Linked DNA regions of Homo sapiens: all the other regions are linked to region 2. The links are contacts of gene promoters, found by promoter capture Hi-C in blood cells and fetal thymus (Javierre and others, 2016). All regions are on one chromosome and are shown on one strand. The core of a region is centred on a gene start or on the middle of the fragment in contact, and the rest is flanking DNA. Distances in the headings are between cores, read along the strand shown. Region 1 holds the start of AREL1 (apoptosis resistant E3 ubiquitin protein ligase 1). Region 2 holds the start of TTLL5 (tubulin tyrosine ligase like 5). Region 3 holds the start of EIF2B2 (eukaryotic translation initiation factor 2B subunit beta). Region 4 holds the start of DLST (dihydrolipoamide S-succinyltransferase).

Region 1 (2,822 bases), core at 110-2,609, 950 kb after region 2:
AACTTAACCCTTAACTAGAAAGAAATTATTATTAATGGAGTGTCATTCCTAAAAATTACACAATACATCCACACTAAAGGCTGAGAATAATAATTCTGAAGGTTTTAACGACTATTCTCTTATTCTGAGACTCTTTTTTGTATTTTTAGTGGAGACAGGGTTTCACCGTGTTGGCCAGGCTGGTTTTGAACTCCTCACCTCAGGTGATCCACCCGCCTCAGCCTCCCAAAGTGCTGGGATTACAGGCGTGAGCCACTGCGCCCGGCTTTCTGAGACTCTTAAACTCAGTGAAGATCAGTCTTTATTTAATAGCTATGCTTATTCTACACTTAAGCAGGGACACCGCTTTGATCCTCTTCATACTAGGGAATTTCACTTCACTTTCTTCTTCCACAGTGATTTGGATTCTTATATTAGTAAGACTTATAAAATGGAGATATCTTGGAGTTTTCCCATTTTCTCTGACAAAAATATTTGAGTACCAGGCACTGGAAACGCCAGACAAACAAGGTCTCTAACCTTGCCATCTTTCAACAAGAAACACTCCCCTCGCCCCACCCCAGGGGAATGTAGTAGTGTAATGGTAAAAACATAAAGAGAACTATACGGACTTCACCGAACTGACATGAGGTTTAAATGCGATATGGCAGACAAAGCATATAACGGTAGAAAAAGTGAACACTTAAGAAATGTTTAATTCCCATCGCCTTTCCCAGTGTGATCGCTCAGCAGCTAAATTACTGTTAAACACTGGCTATCTCATGCTATATAAATCTAAGACACGATAATAAGCAAAAAACAAAATAATAACAACAAACATTTTTACTACTTATCCTCTCTAGACTCTTATTAGAATATCCCTGGGCAGTTGATTCCAGACACTCACAGCCTCTGATCTCTGAGACTAAGCATTCGCTTCATGGTCGCATACTTCCTTGTTTTCTTTTGCTTCCCCTTGAAACAGAAATTTTAGAATTAAAAAAGTTGGAAACACACGGCATCTTTTAAAGTCTCTTCTTTTCTCTTGTCTATTGCCTTCCCTTCTTGCCTCAAATAACCCAGACCCTCTTCCCCACTCTGTAAAGCATAACAGTCACCGCTTGGAGAAGTTTAAGAGCTAAGACCAGAATGAAAATATGCTAGGATAATGTGAAGGAAATTTGGCCACGGTCTGACTACCTCCTTCTCCACCCAAAAAGTGGCCTGATAACGTCCCTTCTTGGACCGTCTTCTCTCACCATGGTCACGCCAAACTCCTGGTTCTTCCGTAATCACCAACGGCGCAATACTTCTACGTCATTCACATACTGCTTCCGGCAAAGGATAGCCCGGAAGCGGAAACTCCTTGGGGAAAGGGCAATCCCCCGAGCCGGTTCCCAGGCCGGGTGGAGACCAACTCTGGGGTCTGTTGGTGGGAGAGTGGGGAGCCCGTCTTCTGCTGAGTGCTGCCGCCCCTTCCCAGGACAGCGGAGGTGGAACTTCGTCGCGCTGCAACCCCCGGCTCGGGTAACGTTTCTCTCCAGCCTTAGGCAGAGCCCAGAAGACCTGCCTTTACCAGAGTTCCAGAGAGAGAGGGAGGAAAAGGGTAGGGGGGTTCAGACTCCTGGTTTGCCCAGTAGTTTGGGGGAACACATTCTCCTCACCCTGTAGCGTTGGGGTATCCGGTGTCTATGGTCCAGCCCTGAGGCTGTGGTTCCTATTTGGTTTTCCTAGCCGATATGGTGCTTTGTGCAGCTAGGTGGATGATTGTTCTCGAGTATATACCGTGTACTCCTCTCGGTGAAGAGAGAAATGAAGCAGTGTTTGAGGGCCTAGACTATCGCTAGAGAATTGGGGCATAAGCTTGCATATGTTACTACTTACCCAAGCCAAGAAAATGGTGAGATACAATGCACATTTATTGTGAAGCCTTGGTGTGTCATCTTTAAGTAAAAAGGGAGAATTTGTGAGAACAAGGAGCGAAAGGTAGCTTTTTTCTTTGAGTACCTGCTATGTATTCCAGTGGTTCTTAACTTTTTGGAGATAACTTATTTCTTGAAAGTTTGTGGAAAGCCAGGAACAATTCTTTAAAAAATGGGCACACATACAGTTTGTAATACACTTAATGAGATTGGTGGACTCTGAAGCCCATCCGTGGACCCTCTGGGTGTCTGTAAACTTTAAATGAAAACCCCCATCCTGTATACTGTACTTGTCACTTTATTCATATTACCTTCTTTGACCTTCTCAATAACATAAATTCTTTTATTTTACATATGGGGAAATTGAGCCCCAGACTTTGTTCAGGGGTCTGTTTGAGTCTCGTGATTCCAAAGTCTGTACTTGTATTTCTTTTTTTCTTTTTCTTTCTTTCTTTCTTTCTTTTTTTTTCTTTTTTTTTTTTTTTTTTTTTTTTTTTTTGCACTTTGTCTTCCATTCTCCAGCTACTGATCAAGCTGGGAACGGAATGGGTACCTCTGTCATACTTTTCTTATTGCATGATGCTATCCTAGAGTTGGAAGTAAAATATGTTATCAGGTTTAAAAAAGAAGGTGACCATTGTATAACCCTTATGATGAAAACACGTTTATTGTTTAACACGAACTTTGGAGTCTGACTGATGGGGTTAAAATCCTTGCTCTGCCTTATAACTCGCCATGACATTGGGTGAGTTAATCTATCTGCATCTCAGTTTCTTTATCTGTAAAATGGAGATAATCATAGTAGCACTCTTTTATTGGGATGTTATCAGGACTTATGTTTATTCATAGTTAACATGCGAGGTCCCTAGAAGAGTGTAAACCAGACTACTCAGAGTGTTTTCTGTTGTTACCATTGTGTGT
Region 2 (3,116 bases), core at 16-2,515:
AAAAAAAAAATACAAAAAATTAGCCGGGTGTGCTGGCTCATGCCTGTAATCCCAGCTACTCGGGAGGCTGAGGGAGGAGAATCGCTTGAACCCGGGAGGCGGAGGTTGCGGTGAGCCAAGATCGCGCCATTGCACTCCAGCCTGGGCAACAAGAGTGAACTCCGTCTCAAAAAAAAAAAAACAACAAAAAACCCCTGCCAACATTTATTTAGACTCTATGACAAGCACGCTGACAAGATGCCATCATGTTTCCAGTAAAATAAATTCAACAATGAACCGAAAGATGAATATATTCTCTTGAATCAAAGGTCCATATAAATAGGTGGGGGAGGGGAGGAATGCCCTTCCACTCTTAAAAATTATTCTTCCTAAAAATCACAAAGTTTGGTACGACTCTCAAATAGACGATGAAATTAGGAAATTTCCAACACTGCATTTCTAACTTAAAATATTTTTTCTAAAGTAAAAAAGTACATGTTCGTTGTGTGTGTCAGAAGAAGAAATAGGAACTACAAATAAAAGAAACATGTTTAAATGACCATAATCCCAAATTACTCAGCGATAATTACTTGCTGTCAATCCTTCTTAACTTTTCCATGCATTCATAAATACGATGAGACTGTAAATAAGACAAAAAAAAAACAGACCCCGATAATGATCAAAGATCTTCGGCGCAATAGGCAATGTCTAACAACTTCAATGGCTTTCTTCAGGGGATTCTCAACGGGATTTCTTGATCTTTCCCAAAATGCTGGGAAGCCCTTTAAGTTTAAACAAACAAAACCTCCAAACGGGAAGGGATGCCAACCTCTCCTAGGCTGCCTGCAGAGCGGGGAGAAACAGGTCTATCGGAAGAAGAGTAGAGATACTCACCTAAGGAGACTCCTCTCCCGAAAGGAATCTGCTTCTCAGCCCCACCCCCAGCTCACCCCAATCCCACGTAGGTCCGCAGATGCTCCCCCCGGGAAGGACGGGACGACCCCGCAGCCGCGATTCAACGCGGCGCGCCCGGAAGCCAACAGCTACTCCCGGGCTCTGAGCGGGAAGTCCTGCTGCAGGCGCCAGCCCGGACCCGGGAATGCTCCTCCCTAGGGTAGGGAAGCGCGCGGGCGCAGGCGTTTACCTGTCTCATCTTCCCATGGTTCGGGGCGAGCAGGCGTGGACCGCGCTCTGCGCCTACCTCCCTCCTCCTTCCCCAGGAAGGCTCAGGGCAGCCGCCGACGGCTGCTTCCCCGGTTACTACAACAACCAACAAGCAACCGCCCGCTCGGAGCCACTGCGCAGGCGCTCATAACGCTCAGCTGCGGACGCGGGCGAATGTCGTCACCGCCGCGCAGCGCGGGCGCAGAGCCCTGCCCTCAGCTGAAGGGAGTCTTCTTTTTTTTTTTTTTTTCCGCTGTTTTTTTCTCCGCCCCTAAGAGGTTGACTCCAAACCCGGAGTTCCGCTAGGTCCAACAGGAGGGCTTACGGCGTGAGCGGCGTACCTGGGGAGAGGCTTAGGCAGCGGCAACCGCTGATTGGCAGTAAAGGGGTTCACTCCCCATCTCCTGCTCGGGCGAAACCGGGACAGCCAATCAGAGAGAGTACTGACGGAAACGGCCCAATCCTGGAGCAGGGCTGAGGGAGGGGGCGGGGACAAATGGCTCAGGTGGACTCCGGGCTGGAGCTGTCCTGGGGGAGCTTGTTTGCGGCAGCGGCTGCTGCTGCCACTGCTGTGCTGGGGGCCCGGTCGCCAGGTAAGGAGAATATGGGGGAGAAGAGGGATGTAGGTGTCTGTGTTGCTTCTGATTGAGAGGATCCGGAGAGTCTGGAAAAATGGAGGTGGGATGGAAGGAAGATAACTGGAAGGCAACCTTTTGGGGGGAAAAGGTTTCGAGAGGCGATGACAAGGGGGAGCTAGGAAGATGGAGAAGGCTTGGTGAATTCAAGGAACGAAGGAATGGATGAGCGAATGAGCAGCCACTATGAGCCTAGCACTGTACAAAGAGCCTTCACTTTTTGTCATATAATTCTTACAATAGCCCTTCGGGTTGATATTTCTATCTCCATTTTGCAGATGAGGAAACCGAGACTGAAAAGTGTAAATGACTTACCCAGGGTCACACAGCTACTAAGTGGTAGGGCCAGGATAAGAATCCCTTTCTCCTGATTAAGTTTTAACAGCACACCTATGCTGGGCTGGGCTTGGCTGGGCTGGGCCAGGGCCAGGACAAAATTTGGAAATAGATGTTGTATACACTCTAAGAGGCCCTTAAGCTTTAGGGAAATTAGGTTGAGAAATTGGCAGAGCAATTCAGAAGTGCTCAGGCTCTGTCCTCATCAGCTATCTGTTGGGATTTCTAACAGATAACACTTCTGTGAAATGGAAGGCATACTTGTGCAGAAAAGTGGAGAGGTGCATCCATGCAGCTTTTCTAAACCCCGGAGGAGTCTCCTCTTGAGAGAGAGTGAGAAAATAAAGAGGATGGGTGGATCTTGGCCCAAATGATAATGGCCTGTGATGTCCAGTAGACCCTCAGTCTCTCTGATCTTCGACAGAGACCACCTTTGTGATCCAGCTCTCCCTGAAGGGCTCATCAATTCACCCTTCCTTCTCTAGATCTCTTTATTGCTTGTTTGGGGCGGGGAGTTGGCGGGGGGGGGCGGCGGTGTTTCACACTGTCTTGGGCCATTGCTGACTTTAATATCTGTCCCACTGGGTAGCAGAGAACAATACCGAAACTTGTATTGCCAAAGTGACAAAGAAAGCCTGTTAGTTTATTACCACTTCAGGCCCAAGAGGTTAACCTGACAACAGATAAACCGTGGACCAAGAAAATAATAATGAGGATGGGAAAAAGTCATTCCATTATTAGATTATTTATCTATTTTGGTTTTATTTAAATCAGACTAACTGAAATTACTACTCAACAAGAGTTGAACTAAGCCTTAAAAAAAAAAAAAAAAAGGCTGGGTGCTGTAGCTCACACCTGTAATCCCAGCATTTGGGAGGCGAGGCCAAGGTGAGTGGATCAGTTGAGCCCAAGTGGAGAGGTTGAGGTAGGAGGATCACTTAAGCCTTTGATTTCAAGGCTGCAATGAGCCATGACTATGCCACTGCATTCCAGCCTGTGTGA
Region 3 (3,034 bases), core at 59-2,558, 660 kb after region 2:
AGAGAGCTTCGGCCTAAAAGAAGTCTTCCTCCAAAAGGTGGCCACAACACTTCTACATGAGAGAGACTGGCCAGAGAAGAAAAAATGGGGGAGCAATTTGGAAGCAGCTTCTTCATCCTCTGATTACAATGAATATCTGCAAGTCACTTGGACCGCAATGACAAGGGGGATAGAAATGGTATACGTGTACGTGTGTATAAAAATTCAGATAGTGAAGGAGGTCTATCGACCTTGGCTCTCTAGGGAGTTCATTTTGTTTCTTTACAATGAAAATAAAACTCTGTCCTAATAGAGTCTGTTCCACTCCACAGATCTGTAGTCTATCAAGGGTTGGTCTGTAAGGAAAAGTAGAGAGGATTACTTTGGTCCTGTCACCTGTTGCAACATTTCCTAATCAGGAAGGAGGACAAACCTCTGAGAACCAGAAGACAGCTAATCTCCCATCTCTGCTAATGAACAACCTTCAGAGGCTTCTGTTCCCTTATGTGCCTGTGACCAGTCCCATTTTCCCAGCGATCAGGCCTCTTACCCAGCTCCACTAGCAGCTCATTAATCGCCTCAATGATGTTGGACTGGAGTTGGGCATAATGGAAGCTGAAATCCTCGTTTAGGCCTCCGGATGTCAACAGTTTGTGCAGGGACTCCTGCTGATCACTCTCGTCGCTGCGTCCATGGAGTCTATAGAGGCAACAAGACCCAAAGAGAGAGGTGGGGAGGAGTGGTCAGGCAGGTAACAAGGGCTGTTCAGCTCCAATAAAGTCTCCGAGCAGGTAGAGGGGCCCGTGCAAAAAGTGTCACTGGATCCAACCAGGAGCCCAGGACGTGAGCCTGACCTGCCATACTCCTCCCGGATAATCTTGAGCACTCTCCGCACCATGTTGCCCACGGTGGTCTCGGAGGGCTGAGCGGCCGTCATCCTCCTGCCCTCTCTGCGGATCAGCTCCATCAGCTCCCCTACAGTCCAAAAGAGAGAGGATAAGAGGAGCCAACGCGAAGTGAGGCCTGGGAAATTTTCAGCCCTGGGATCGGGAACAGACAGGGGCCAGGTTCGCCGGCGGAGGCAGGCCGGCCTCACCCGCGTTGCTCCAGCGGTGGTCCGTGATGATCTGGCGCAGCAACCCTAGGGTCTCCCGAGCCATTTCCTCGGAGCTGCGCGGCCCACCACCCCGCTTCAGGGTCTCCACGAAGCTCTCGATCCTCTCTGACAACTCCGAGCCCTTCGCTGCGGATCCCGGCATCTTTAAGGTAGCTGCCTTCAGCCTTCACCGGCGGAATCCACACCTGCCAGACCACACAGTTTGCACTTCCGGGGCGGGCGAGGTCGGCTTCCGCTGTGAGGGGATGGGGGGAAACCTCAAGTTTGAGTGGAAGCCGGCTACGCCCTTCGTTGCCGATCTCCCGCCCCCTTCCTCTGCCTGAGCCAATCAGAGACGTGGGGCTCGGGTTGTTCAGTTATAACCGGGCGTCCGCGCGCCCCCGCGCCTCGGGGGCTGGAGGATCGGAAGCGGCCTTTCTTGGCTCAGCCGACGGTGAACGGAAGTAACCCGTCAGGCCTGTAGAGGGTGGCTGGTCCCGTTGCTATGGGAGCAGCAAGTCTCTACGCGCCCCTCACCGCGACTTAAGGCTACACTGAAGAAGTTGCGGCACTCCCTCCTGTCTTCCCAGCTCGGTGACTGCCCGAGCTGTCACTCCCGAGTGTCAGCTGACACTGACGCTCTGAATGCATGTCCAGGGTCGGCTGCCCCTTGGGCAGACGTCTCACTTTTGTTCTGTTACATTGCTTGGTACCGTTTGCGCCTGTGTCTAGGAGGTTCATGTCTCTGAAAACAAGGACGATATCTTTTGTTGCTTTTGTATTCTCAAGGCCTAACACGTCTAACAGAAGACGGCGAAATTAGAGATGAGGAAGATTAAGGAGATTCAAAGTGGGAGCCAATACAGAAGCAAAGATGACATCCTCTGATTTGGACAGAATTGTCCTCCTACAGAGAGGCCAGAGAGTATAACATAATACCAAGAGTTACCATTTACTTAAAGCTTACTGGTTCTTGGGCACTGTGTGTGAATTGTCTCAGTTAATAAGGTCTGAAATAGGTCCTCTTATCCCCATTTTACAGATTGGGAAACAGACCCACAGAATTTAAGCAGTTAATAAAGGATTGGGTTCATACTTAAATCCAGGTCTACCTGAACCCAAAGTATGTGTGTAATAGAAATCTCTATTTCCTTAAGATAAATTCTTCAAAGTGGAATCCATAGGCGAGCACATTTTAGACTTTTGTTACAATTAACAAATTGCCCTCCAAAAAGATTATGTCAATACCAAAGTTAGCCAAAGGTAGTACAAAGAAAAGAAAATTACAGATTAATATCTCTCATGAACATAGAAGCAAAAATTGCAACAAATTATTAGCACATCAAATCCTGCAATACATAAAAAAAGAATAATATGTAATTACAAAGTGAAACATAAACCTGGAATGCAAAGCTGATTAAACACTTAAAAATCAATGTAATATGCCATATTAACAATCTGAGAAGTAAAACCACATGATCATGTCAATTGATGCAGGAAGAAACATTTGACAAAATTCAATATTCATGGTACAAACTCTCAGAAAACTAGAACAAAAGGGAACTTCCTGAACTCGATAAAGGGTATCTACAAAATCCTACACCTAAAAATCATACTTCACAGTAAAAGATTGCTTTCTCCCTAAGATCAGGACAAGGCAAGGATGTCTACTTTCACCACTCCTATTTAAATTATACGTGAAGTCCTAGCCCTTGCAATAAGGCAAGAAAAAGAAAAAGCATACAGAATGGAAAGAAACTGTCCCTGTTCACAGAAGACATGATAGTGTACACAGAAAATCCCAGAGTCAACAGCAACAAAAACAAAACCTCCTAGAACATAAGTTTAGCAAGGATACAAAAACTATATTTCTATGTATTAGCAATGAGCATCAGAAATTGAAGTTGAAAATACAGTTGCTCTAAAAAGCCATAAAATATGTGTCAATTTTGCTGTGTT
Region 4 (3,288 bases), core at 123-2,622, 780 kb after region 2:
AGTCTCGCTCTGTCGCCCAGGCTGGAGTGCAGTGGCGCGAACTCGGCTCACTGCAAGCTCCGCCTCCCGGCTTCACGCCATTCTCGTGCCTCAGCCTCCCGAGGAGCTGGGACTACAGGCGCCTGCCACCACGCCCGGCTAATTTTTTGTATTTTTTAGTAGAGATGGGGTTTCACCGTGTTAACCAGGATGGTCTCGATCTCCTGACCTCGTGATCCGCCCGCCTCAGCCTCCCAGAGTGCTGGGATTACAGGCGTCAGCCACCGCGCCCGGCCATGGCCATAACTTTTAAGTCACCTCCTCAAAAAGGGCTCTTCTGTCCACCCTCGTTTCCTTCTCAGCAGTTACAAAAATTTGCCTTTGTTGGCTTGTTTAGCAACTGACACTATCCAACTAGCCTAGGAGCTCCACGAGGGCAAGAACTGTACACTTCTGTATCCACTCCTGTATCCCTAGCGTCTAGCACAGTGCCTAACACAGTAGAAACTCAACTACGAGCTAAATGAATAAGCGATAGCTCGTGATTATGTAGCATTGCGTCTCACTACTCTCTGAACCAAACTGTCTTTAAATATTATGAGAAACACAGGCACCCCCGAGTTCCTCACATACTGCTCTGCCCAGGAGGAGAGCATTTTAGGTGACGGTAAGGGCAGAACTTACCAGGCAGGGAACGTCTCCCTAGAGGGCAGTTCCCCTGTTGAGAAAGAAGACATTATCGACGTCACCCAAGATGAAAAAAAAACCCAGCTTTTTCTTTTAAGTACACGCTCAAAGCTGTCCCAGTGGTGGTGACAGGTGAATCTCGTAACTCCGAAGGTAAATGCAACACACCGTGCTGGCAGACCCAATCAACACGCTGGGCCTGCCAAACTATCTCAACTTCCCAACGGGACTCATTAATACCCACTGATTTTAACAGAGCAAGACGAGACGGGCGCCGAATCCCGCCGGAGGACTCCGCCGCGCCTCCTCCCTAACTCTGAGTCAAGTATCTGGACGGGCGCGGCTCCCCAGCTCCCGCGCGGAGGGTGGGGTACAGCAGGAAACGTTCCCCGCAGGCTGCCTGGAGAAGGCAGGGGGCCGCTGGGCTCCGCAAAACGGTCCCGAGGGCAACCACGGCCCCGGGCCGCCCAGCCCGCGCGGCCTCCGCGTCCCAGTGCCCTTGGTGCCCGGCCCGGCCGGCGCGCCGCGCCCCTGCCTTCCAGGCCGCCTCTCTGCCCGCCAACAGACTCCTCACCCGTCGGGGCCCCGGCTCGGCCAGACCGTACCTTCTGGAAGGCGGAGAGCGAGCGGCTGAACGCCCGAGACACACAGCGGGATCGGGACAGCATCACGGCGGAGGAGCCGAGGGCGGGCGGACACCGGATATAGGGCCGGACAACAACCGGAAGTGGGGCGGGCCGCAGTACCCGCCGCCCGACGAGGGGTGTTCGGAGCGAACCACTGGCAGGGGGTGGGCGCACGGCGGCGCCCAGTATCCCGGCTGCAGCGCAGGAGTCCCGCTCTCTGGAGCAGGCAACCCTAAGGCGCTCTTGGGGCCCTCCGCACTGCCTGTCAGCCTGAGGTGGTTCTCCTGAAGGTGTATACGACTGTCCCGCCACCACATTGCCCCCGGGGTCAGGCCTTCCCCTACCCTTCCACAGAACTGGCTCTGAGCTTGGCGCCCTTCTCTCTTGGGACCCGAGGGCACCGCGCCGTTCCGCCTCTGTACCTTGGGAAGAGAGCAAAAGAGGGGCACGGACATTGAACTGAAACCTTGGCAGACATGCATGCCTGATCTTACACTTGTGTGGCCTGGGGCAGATGACATTGCCCCCCACCCCCAGTCTCAGGTCCCTTAACTATTAAAAAAAAAAAAAAAGGCACTTGTTACTTCCCTGTCTTCCTAACCCCGAGTCAAAGAAACAGAATCCCAGGAATTTCTAAATCCCATTGCCTTTTTACGAGTCGGATATCTTCACCAACTATAGCCTTATTTCTCAACAGCTTCTGATCTCCCCCCAACGCAAATTCCAGCCAAACTAATTGTTCCCCATACATCTTGTGCATTTTGGAAGTTGTTCGTTTGTCACCCTATCCCTAGAATATAAACTCCCAGCTGTTTTTTTAAGAAACAAGGTCATAGTTCACTGGAGCCTCGACACTCTGGGCTCAAGCGATCCCTCTGCCTCAGCCTCTGGAGTAGCTGGGACTACAGGTGCCACCATGCCAGGCTGACCTCCCCACTTTGAGTGTGCCATTCTTCCCGCTGACTTGAAGTGAAAGCATATAGCATCCCCTTCCCCTCCTTAAGTATTCAGGCCCCTTGAGTATTCACCTTTAAGGCTCACCTTCCTAATGAAAAAGATGTGCTTTAAACCTCTGGCTGAATTAGTAACACATAAATGTATGAATGAATGAATGAACCACTTGGTGCCGTTCATGATGATTTCTTTATCTGAGGCATTTTGCCTGGCCCTCAGGACCTTTATTTTTTATTTTTCTAATTAATTTATGTTTTAATATAAATTGAGACGGGGTCTCACTATGTTGCCCAGGCTGGCCTCAAATTCCATCAGGACCTTTACAGTGCCTTCACTCACCTGAACCCTGAAAGCACTGCCACTGAAATTCTGGAAGGATGGGCCAAAGTCCTAACTAGAAATAGAGAAAACAGCTCTGCCCTGCTGCTACCCACAATTAACTCCTCAGTAGCTTTCACCTGAATTATTTGAAAAGCTCCCTAAGCAGTTCTAAGCCTCCGCTCTCGCTTTCTCTAGCCCATCATCCTTTATATCTGTGTCAAAGATCCTTCTGAGCCTGGTGTGGTAGCTCACGCCTGTAATCCCATCACTTTGGGAGGATGAGGTGGGTGGATCACTTGAGATCAGGAGTTCAAGACCAGCCTGGCCAACATGGTGAAACCCCATCTCTACTAAAAATACAGAAATTAGCTGGGTGTGGTAGTGAATGCCTGTAATCCCAGCTACTCGGGAGGCTGAGGCAAGAGAATTGCTTGAACCCAGGAGATGGAGGTTGCAGTGAGCCAAGATTGCACCACTGCACTCCAGCCTGAGCAACAGAGTGAGACTTCGTCTCAAAAAAAAAAAAAAAAAGAAAGTAAAGAAAAAAAAGAAATCCTTCTGAAATGCAAACCTAATCCTGTCACTCCTCTGATTAAAGTCTTTCATTGCTTCTCCTGGTCGGATAAAGCAAGGGAGATAAAGTTTATCTCCCTTGTAGGATAAAGTACAAACTCCTCAACTTGGCCAGGCACCTGATAATCAGGCCTCTGATTATGTTCTG

What was found. The method cuts DNA at HindIII sites, captures the fragments that hold promoters and counts their contacts. A CHiCAGO score of 5 or more calls a contact.
Region 1: the fragment with the promoter of AREL1 here is called in contact with the fragment with the promoter of TTLL5 in region 2 in 7 of 17 cell types (fetal thymus, non-activated CD4 T cells, naive CD8 T cells and 4 more); the score reaches 10.9 in fetal thymus.
Region 3: the fragment with the promoter of EIF2B2 here is called in contact with the fragment with the promoter of TTLL5 in region 2 in 4 of 17 cell types (naive CD8 T cells, fetal thymus, naive CD4 T cells and 1 more); the score reaches 6.2 in naive CD8 T cells.
Region 4: the fragment with the promoter of DLST here is called in contact with the fragment with the promoter of TTLL5 in region 2 in 3 of 17 cell types (neutrophils, monocytes and activated CD4 T cells); the score reaches 6.9 in neutrophils.

What each region holds. Positions count from the first base shown.
Region 1 is chr14:74,711,617-74,714,438 of GRCh38, reverse strand. It overlaps AREL1 (apoptosis resistant E3 ubiquitin protein ligase 1), which reads left to right and starts at 1,359. Exons shown (of 20, transcript NM_001039479.2): 1 at 1,359-1,506. FCF1 (FCF1 rRNA-processing protein) reads right to left here and starts at 1,295. Exons shown (of 8, transcript NM_015962.5): 1 at 1,239-1,295; 2 at 887-954. The coding sequence starts at 1,241. RefSeq lists an enhancer at 1,182-1,461. The HindIII fragment of the contact is 16,377 bases long and covers 1-1,844 here.
Region 2 is chr14:75,659,395-75,662,510 of GRCh38, reverse strand. It overlaps TTLL5 (tubulin tyrosine ligase like 5), which reads right to left and starts at 1,265. Exons shown (of 32, transcript NM_015072.5): 1 at 1,124-1,265. ERG28 (ergosterol biosynthesis 28 homolog) reads left to right here and starts at 1,635. Exons shown (of 5, transcript NM_007176.4): 1 at 1,635-1,736. RefSeq lists an enhancer at 1,194-1,413 and a silencer at 1,524-1,573. The HindIII fragment of the contact is 4,369 bases long and covers 1-2,258 here.
Region 3 is chr14:75,001,195-75,004,228 of GRCh38, reverse strand. It overlaps EIF2B2 (eukaryotic translation initiation factor 2B subunit beta), which reads right to left and starts at 1,308. Exons shown (of 8, transcript NM_014239.4): 1 at 1,076-1,308; 2 at 834-954; 3 at 530-678. The coding sequence starts at 1,238. RefSeq lists enhancers at 950-1,630, 1,672-1,761. The HindIII fragment of the contact is 8,033 bases long and covers 1-2,039 here.
Region 4 is chr14:74,880,000-74,883,287 of GRCh38, reverse strand. It overlaps DLST (dihydrolipoamide S-succinyltransferase), which reads right to left and starts at 1,372. Exons shown (of 15, transcript NM_001933.5): 1 at 1,272-1,372; 2 at 664-697. The coding sequence starts at 1,334. RefSeq lists silencers at 1,028-1,357, 1,214-1,440. The HindIII fragment of the contact is 10,796 bases long and covers 1-3,288 here.